Linked DNA regions of Homo sapiens: region 1 is linked to region 2. Evidence: promoter capture Hi-C in 16 types of primary human blood cells and fetal thymus (Javierre and others, 2016). All regions are on one chromosome and are shown on one strand. The core of a region is centred on a gene start or on the middle of the fragment in contact, and the rest is flanking DNA. Distances in the headings are between cores, read along the strand shown.

Region 1 (4,504 bases), core at 16-2,515, 520 kb before region 2:
TGGGGTTCAGCAGTCTGTGCTTTAAAAAGGCCTCCAGGTGATTCCGATGGATGCTAGAGTTTGAGAACCACTGTATTGTATAAAGACCTATCATAAAAGATTTCAGGAAACACACACAAAACCTGCTTACTGCAATGACATCCAGCAAAAAGAAATATAGTGGAGGTTTGGAGGCCATTTACCTGTCCCTCTCTGTGCTGTCTGAATGTTCTCAATGAGCAGCTATTACAGTAATAGGAAGGAAGACCTTCTCTGTATTGAGTTGAACTGTGCTTAGTATAGCTCCTACCCTCTAGTCCTAATTTTTATCCCAAAGGATCATCCAAACAGCCTTTTTTACCCTTATACATGGGCTACCCTTTCAAATGTTTTAAGATGACTCTCATGACCTCCTGTTGGGTCTTCTTTTCTCCATGCTATACATTTTAAGTTCCTGTAATTTTCCTCCATGACATGGTTTTCTAAAATAAAAAGAGAAGCAGCAGCATTAAGAGGCACTGACCATACTTAACTAGAATGATCTTCAGTCACCCATGTTTCTACATGACACTGCATGGAGATGAGGTAAGCTGGGCTAGCTGCACACGGTAAGCACACAGGAAGTCTTCCTTTTCCCTCTCCCTTCCTGGAGACCCCCTGGATGCAACACATGCTGGGACACATCACTGGCCCATCCAGCCCAGCATCCAATCTCTGACAAGGATAAGTTGTTCTTGATAGGAACAAACTATCTATAGTTTGTTCTAACTAACATAAAAAATAATCTGCTTTTTAAGGGAGAAGGGAAAGGGAGCTGGGGCTTCTTCACAAACTGTCTTTGAGGGGAATTTTGAGGTAATCCTTGTCAAATACACTATTCTTCCCTTAAGGGTTCACTAGAATTAGTGTTATCTGTGTTTTATCAATATGTAGCTTCACATGAATCCAAATGCTTTTTAGACTTACTTATATTTTGAGCCAACCCTCATCTTACATCAATAAATTTCTTATGAACATTTACTCTGTGCAAGATGTGGTGCCAGTGACTTACCAGATGGCCTTGCTAATCTTTTCTGCAACTTTTAGATGGGAAACCAAGGTTCTGAGCAGTTAGGTCACCTGTCAGGGTCATAGAGTCAGTGAATAACAGAGAAGGATTTCAATCCTATGTTCTTTCTACTATGTCACATGACAATTTTTTAAAGATCCTAACAATAGCCTTATTCAAATGTCAAAGCTGCCACATAATTCTACAATCCCAATATTTGGTTAACTAGATTGAGTTTGATCTGTCTAAATCACTCGATTTTTTTTTTTTTTTTTTTTTTTTTGAGACAGGGTCTCACTCTATCACCCAGGCTGGAGTGTAGTGATGCAATTATAGCTCATTGTGGCCTCGACCTCCTGGGCTCAAGCCATTCTCCCATAACAGCCTCACGAGTAGCTGGGACTACAGGCATGCACCATCATGACACAATAATTTTAGATTTTTTATAGAGATGGTGTTTTGCCATGTTGGCCAGGCTGGTCTCGAATTCCTGGGCTCAAGCTATCCTCCCACCTCGGCCTCCCAAAGTTCTGAGATTACAGACATGAGCCACCGTGCTTGGCCTCATTCTTCATTTTATAGACTTTGTCTTCTTCTCAATTTTCATCTTGCAATATCCAGTCAGCAACCGAGTCCTTTCTTAATCTCTCTCCCATAGCCTGTTTAGCAGAATCCAAGCTATTCAGCTCTCAGCATAATCTGCAATGGATTTCAGTGTAGCTCAGCCCCAAATCTAGATGGTTAAGGGACTGGTAATATATTTAGCCTGAACAATTTTTATTTGATTTTCCTATCCTTCCTAAGTGCACTCTATACATATGTCACTGTATATTCTTCCCCAACTACATATCCATTCTCTACCTTCCCTCCCTGCTATCTGTCCTGGGGACAATAATCTGGATCTCCAAGACTCTCTAATCCTCTGTCTTCTAGTTGGGTTTGAGCAATGGAGAGCTCTAGCTGAAGCCTCAAAGGAAGGAGAAGAGTAAGGTCAGGCCTCTTTTCCTGTAGAGTTGGCCTGGGCCAGCTGCTTCTCTTGGGCTAAAATAACAGATCCTCTCCAGGCAGGCTTCTCCACACGATTTCTCCTTTTGGGTTCTGGTAACCAGTCCTTCCCTCACCCCTTTGGGTCTAAGGATGTAACAGTCTTACTGTTACTAGACCCAGGCATTCAGGCTGCCCTCACTTACTCAATAGTTCTTTTATTGAAAATTATCCTAATTTAGTTATAGCTTATGTTTTTCCCTCTGATATACTTCCTTCACCATGCTCTTAGCACCTTGAAGTGGTAAAAGTTCCCCTTTATTATTGGTATCTGAGTACCTCAAAAATCCCCTCCTCACATCTTTAGATAGTCCCTTATTTATATTTTCCTCAAAAATTCTAGTTGAATGCTTCCAATTCCAGCCAAGATGTAGTGACAGGAACCATATTTACCTCCCTGCTTAAAACAATGGGGAAAAAAATAGAAAACAAAGATTCTCATGACATTGGACATCAGGCAACAGAGTAATCACACAGAGATGGGAAAAAATGAGATAAGTCCTTCAATGGCTCAAGTTTAATCCCTGGGATATGTCTGCAGATTGTGGCACAAAAAGGATGAACACAGGCCAAGCCCAGCAGTCTCCCTGAGTTGAGGAGACAGAGCTGAAAGTCTGTGGAGAACAAAAAGGCTAGAATCTTGGGCAAGAGAGGAGAGAGCTGCACAGAAGAAGAATGCCAGAGAATTGCAAAGGTACTCCCCAAGTATTCAGGAGAGTACTAATCATCCGTACTAATGCATCTATATGTGAAAACAATCTGAGGCAGAAGCACCAAAAAGGATTAGAGAGAACAAATCAGTGGGCTTCACATAAGGCCAGGAATAGTTCTATTCATAACAGCCAGAGTAGAAAGCCTCATAACTCAGAGGGAATTGGGTAGAGTATAAATTCTACCAAGCATTTAAACAATTAATAAAATTCTTCTTGAACTCTTATAAAAAATTAAAGAGGAAGGAATACTTCCACACTCATTTTATGAGGCCAGCATTACCATTACCCTTAAACTAAAGCTAGACAAGGACATTATGAGAAAAGATAATTACAGGCCAATATCCACAATGAACACAGATGCAAAAATCCCCAATAAAATACTAGCAAACCAAATTCAACAGCACATTAAGAAGATCATTCACCATGATCAAGTAAGTAACTATCCTTGTAATGCAAGGATGGTTCAACATATGCAAATCAATAAATGTGATACACTACATTCACAGAACAAAGGATAAAAATACTATCATCTCAATAGATTCTGCAAAAGCATTTGACAAAATTCAACATACTTTCACAATAAAAACTATCACAAATTAGATATAGAAGGAATCCACCTCAACATTATACAGACTATATATGACAAGCCCAAAGCCAATATGATACTCAACATCAAAAAGCCGAAAGCTTTTCCTTTAAGATCAGGAACAAGAGAGAATGCCCACTCTTACCACTACTATTCAGCACAGTATTGGAAGTCCTAGCTAGAGCAATTACAAAAGAAAACTAAATGAAAGGCATCCAGATTGGAAAGGAAGGGATAACATTGTCTGTTTACAGATGACATGATATTATATATAGAAAACCACCCAAAGACTCCAAAAAACTGTTAGAACTAATAAATTAAATCAATAAAGCTGTAGAATAAAAAATCAACATAACAAAAAGCAGCCGCATTTCTATTCACTAACAATGAACTACCCCAAAAAGAAATTAACAATCTCACTTAGAAGGGCATCAAAAAGGAAAAAGTACTTAGGAAAAAATTTACCAAGGAGGTGAAAGATTTGTATATTGAAAACTATAAACCTATGATGAAAGAAACTGAAGAAGACACAAATAAATGGAAACATATCCATGTTCACAGACTGGTAGAAATAATATTGCTAAAATAACCATACTACTCAAAGTGATCTGCAGATTCAAAGTAATTTCTATCAAAATACCAATGGCATTTAAAAAAAAAATAGAGAAAAACAATCCTAAAATTCATATGGAACCACAAAAAACTCCAAATAGCTAAAGCAATCTTGGGAAAGAACAAAGCTGGAGACATCACACTTCCCAATTTCAAATTATATTACAAAGCTATAATAATCATAACAATATGGTGCTGGAATAAAAAGAGACATATACACTAATGGAACCAATAGAAAACCCAGAAATAAACTACTCATATACAATCAACTACCCTTTGACAAAAGCAACAAAAACACAATGGGGAAAAGGAAGTCTCTTGAATAAATGGTGTTGGAAAAACTGGATAGTCACATGCGAAAGAATGAAATTGAACCCTTATACTATACACAAAAATCAACTCAAAATGGATTACAGTTGTAAACATAAGACCTGCAACATTAAAACTCCTAGAAGAAAACGACAAAAAACTCCTCGACATTGGTCTTGGCTATGATTTTTTGGATATGACATCAAAAGCATG
Region 2 (4,054 bases), core at 819-3,318:
ATACAACAGAAAATGATTCAGGGCAACAGACAGAGGAGAATGTTCTCTCCTTGAGGAAGCAACTGGATCTTGTCATCACTGTATACCTACCTACCCCACCCCCTCCCCAGCTCAGTGCCTGGCTCACAGTAGGCTTTCAGTTACCCTCTGCAGATCAGTGAAAGCTAGGTGAGTGCCCGGAGTGAAGAAAAGTTGGCAGGTTTCCCACTGATACCAGCTGCTGTTGGTTTCTGAACACTCAAAGCCGCAAATACCTTAGGGCTGGGGGCAATGAACCCAAGGCTGAATTCCAAGTTCAGAAGCAGCGAAGTCTGAATTTAGAACCTAGGAACTTAAACTGCTGCAGGTCCAACTTCAAGCCCCAGTTTTAGACAGAGGCTTGGGAAAGATCTGACTTCTAACCCGGTTCCCCCTCCCCTCCTCCCCTCGATGCTTCTCACAGGAAAGTACACCTGGTCCTGCCAAATCGCACTCTTATATCCTGGCATCCTATCCAGGCTCTGCGAGGATGGAAACTGCGAGGCAGGGGAGGGAAGCGGGCTGTTTGGCCACCACCTCCCTAGTGCTGCAGGCGACCCTGTCACACTAACTCCTGGCAGCCCAGTGAGGTGGACGGCACCGGCCCCACCTGCAGATGAGGGAAATGAAGCTCGGAGGAGTTCCGTGATTTGCTTGCTTCACACTGTGGTAGCCTGGCCACGAAAGAACCAGGATTCCCGACTTCGGGATTCTTTCCACCACACACTTTCGTCCCTAAGGGGTGGGGGGCGGGGGGAGAATAAAATAACCGCGGAAAAGGAACCACTTACATGTGTCTAGCGCTTCCTAGAGGCTACCCAGGATATGCGCCCACCACCCGGCCGGGAGTGCAGAGATTTGAAGTCCAGGTTCTACCCCGGGCTCCGAGTACTACTGCGTGACTTTATGCGAGTGTCCGCCGCCTTCTGGGCTTGTTTTCCCGGAAGCAACTCGGCGCGGATGGAGTGTGTGTGTGCGCGCGCGCGCGCGTTATGTTGTGCGTGTTGTGTTAAGCGTGTGCGTGTTGTCCGGGGGCGGGAGGGGGAGTAGACTAACACCGGGGTTCCCCGAGTTTCGGATCGCCTACACGCTTGTTCCCATCTGGACCCTGTTACCCACCAATTGCGCCCACTATAAAAACTGCCCCTCCGAGGCAAAGCTGTGAACCCCCGCGCCCTTTCCCCCACGGTCCCGGAGGATGAAGTGGGGTGCAACGGAGACTCAGCTGAGCGTCCAGTTTCGGGCAATACAAATCTCTCGGCTTCTACGAGCAGCCAGACGACCCCGCGGACCGTCGCTCCTGAACTTGACCGAGATGCAAACTTCGGAGTGTTCTCAACGTGGGGGGCCGACTCTCGGGAGACCGCCCCTAAACTTAAGTCCCCTTAGGCTCGCCCCCACCTGGGACTTCACAGAGCCACCTTAAGGGCGGTATTCCCGCCCCCCCGGAAGTGCGGGGGGGTGGCAGCGTACTTGGATTCTCAGCCTCCAGCCCCGCGCGGTGGCGGCCGCCGGTGGATGACTTCGGGCCCCACAAGTGGGGAAACAACAACCACCCCTCGCCCGCACCCCTGGCCCAAAACAACTGGCCAGGTTCCCTGGCCTCCCGGGTCCCTGCATCCCCCGCATCCCCGTCCGCAGCCGTGAACTTGAGCCCCCCTCCATCAGAGGTTGCGAGCGTCCGCCCGCTCGCGGCAGCCACCGTCACTAGACAGTCAAACCCCAAGACGTCAGCCCACAATGCACCGGGCGGGCCGGGAAAAACGGCCCGGGGAGGGGACCGGGGAAGAGAGGGCCGAGAGGCGTGCGGCAGGGGGGAGGGTAGGAGAAAGAAGGGCCCGACTGTAGGAGGGCAGCGGAGCATTACCTCATCCCGTGAGCCTCCGCGGGCCCAGAGAAGAATCTTCTAGGGTGGAGTCTCCATGGTGACGGGCGGGCCCGCCCCCCTGAGAGCGACGCGAGCCAATGGGAAGGCCTTGGGGTGACATCATGGGCTATTTTTAGGGGTTGACTGGTAGCAGATAAGTGTTGAGCTCGGGCTGGATAAGGGCTCAGAGTTGCACTGAGTGTGGCTGAAGCAGCGAGGCGGGAGTGGAGGTGCGCGGAGTCAGGCAGACAGACAGACACAGCCAGCCAGCCAGGTCGGCAGTATAGTCCGAACTGCAAATCTTATTTTCTTTTCACCTTCTCTCTAACTGCCCAGAGCTAGCGCCTGTGGCTCCCGGGCTGGTGTTTCGGGAGTGTCCAGAGAGCCTGGTCTCCAGCCGCCCCCGGGAGGAGAGCCCTGCTGCCCAGGCGCTGTTGACAGCGGCGGAAAGCAGCGGTACCCACGCGCCCGCCGGGGGAAGTCGGCGAGCGGCTGCAGCAGCAAAGAACTTTCCCGGCTGGGAGGACCGGAGACAAGTGGCAGAGTCCCGGAGCCAACTTTTGCAAGCCTTTCCTGCGTCTTAGGCTTCTCCACGGCGGTAAAGACCAGAAGGCGGCGGAGAGCCACGCAAGAGAAGAAGGACGTGCGCTCAGCTTCGCTCGCACCGGTTGTTGAACTTGGGCGAGCGCGAGCCGCGGCTGCCGGGCGCCCCCTCCCCCTAGCAGCGGAGGAGGGGACAAGTCGTCGGAGTCCGGGCGGCCAAGACCCGCCGCCGGCCGGCCACTGCAGGGTCCGCACTGATCCGCTCCGCGGGGAGAGCCGCTGCTCTGGGAAGTGAGTTCGCCTGCGGACTCCGAGGAACCGCTGCGCACGAAGAGCGCTCAGTGAGTGACCGCGACTTTTCAAAGCCGGGTAGCGCGCGCGAGTCGACAAGTAAGAGTGCGGGAGGCATCTTAATTAACCCTGCGCTCCCTGGAGCGAGCTGGTGAGGAGGGCGCAGCGGGGACGACAGCCAGCGGGTGCGTGCGCTCTTAGAGAAACTTTCCCTGTCAAAGGCTCCGGGGGGCGCGGGTGTCCCCCGCTTGCCACAGCCCTGTTGCGGCCCCGAAACTTGTGCGCGCAGCCCAAACTAACCTCACGTGAAGTGACGGACTGTTCTATGACTGCAAAGATGGAAACGACCTTCTATGACGATGCCCTCAACGCCTCGTTCCTCCCGTCCGAGAGCGGACCTTATGGCTACAGTAACCCCAAGATCCTGAAACAGAGCATGACCCTGAACCTGGCCGACCCAGTGGGGAGCCTGAAGCCGCACCTCCGCGCCAAGAACTCGGACCTCCTCACCTCGCCCGACGTGGGGCTGCTCAAGCTGGCGTCGCCCGAGCTGGAGCGCCTGATAATCCAGTCCAGCAACGGGCACATCACCACCACGCCGACCCCCACCCAGTTCCTGTGCCCCAAGAACGTGACAGATGAGCAGGAGGGCTTCGCCGAGGGCTTCGTGCGCGCCCTGGCCGAACTGCACAGCCAGAACACGCTGCCCAGCGTCACGTCGGCGGCGCAGCCGGTCAACGGGGCAGGCATGGTGGCTCCCGCGGTAGCCTCGGTGGCAGGGGGCAGCGGCAGCGGCGGCTTCAGCGCCAGCCTGCACAGCGAGCCGCCGGTCTACGCAAACCTCAGCAACTTCAACCCAGGCGCGCTGAGCAGCGGCGGCGGGGCGCCCTCCTACGGCGCGGCCGGCCTGGCCTTTCCCGCGCAACCCCAGCAGCAGCAGCAGCCGCCGCACCACCTGCCCCAGCAGATGCCCGTGCAGCACCCGCGGCTGCAGGCCCTGAAGGAGGAGCCTCAGACAGTGCCCGAGATGCCCGGCGAGACACCGCCCCTGTCCCCCATCGACATGGAGTCCCAGGAGCGGATCAAGGCGGAGAGGAAGCGCATGAGGAACCGCATCGCTGCCTCCAAGTGCCGAAAAAGGAAGCTGGAGAGAATCGCCCGGCTGGAGGAAAAAGTGAAAACCTTGAAAGCTCAGAACTCGGAGCTGGCGTCCACGGCCAACATGCTCAGGGAACAGGTGGCACAGCTTAAACAGAAAGTCATGAACCACGTTAACAGTGGGTGCCAACTCATGCTAACGCAGCAGTTGCAAACATTTTGAAGAGAGACCGTCGG

What was found. Contacts are between HindIII fragments. The CHiCAGO score rates a contact against its expected background, and 5 or more counts as called.
Region 1: a fragment that was not itself captured here is called in contact with the fragment with the promoter of JUN in region 2 in 11 of 17 cell types (total B cells, total CD4 T cells, naive CD8 T cells and 8 more); the score reaches 8.7 in total B cells.

The regions. Positions count from the first base shown.
Region 1 is chr1:59,304,120-59,308,623 of GRCh38, reverse strand. The region is part of intron 1 of FGGY (FGGY carbohydrate kinase domain containing); the gene reads right to left. Among named protein-coding and RNA genes, the nearest start is that of FGGY, 9.3 kb to the right of the region's middle. The HindIII fragment of the contact is 4,416 bases long and covers 1-3,473 here.
Region 2 is chr1:58,782,061-58,786,114 of GRCh38, reverse strand. JUN (Jun proto-oncogene, AP-1 transcription factor subunit) reads left to right here and starts at 2,068. Exons shown (of 1, transcript NM_002228.4): 1 at 2,068-4,054. The coding sequence starts at 3,045. The coding sequence ends at 4,040. It overlaps JUN-DT (JUN divergent transcript), which reads right to left and starts at 964. Exons shown (of 2, transcript NR_108106.1): 1 at 810-964. RefSeq lists enhancers at 877-1,622, 1,849-2,108, 1,623-2,370, 3,779-3,958 and a silencer at 3,629-3,708. The HindIII fragment of the contact is 7,855 bases long and covers 1-4,054 here.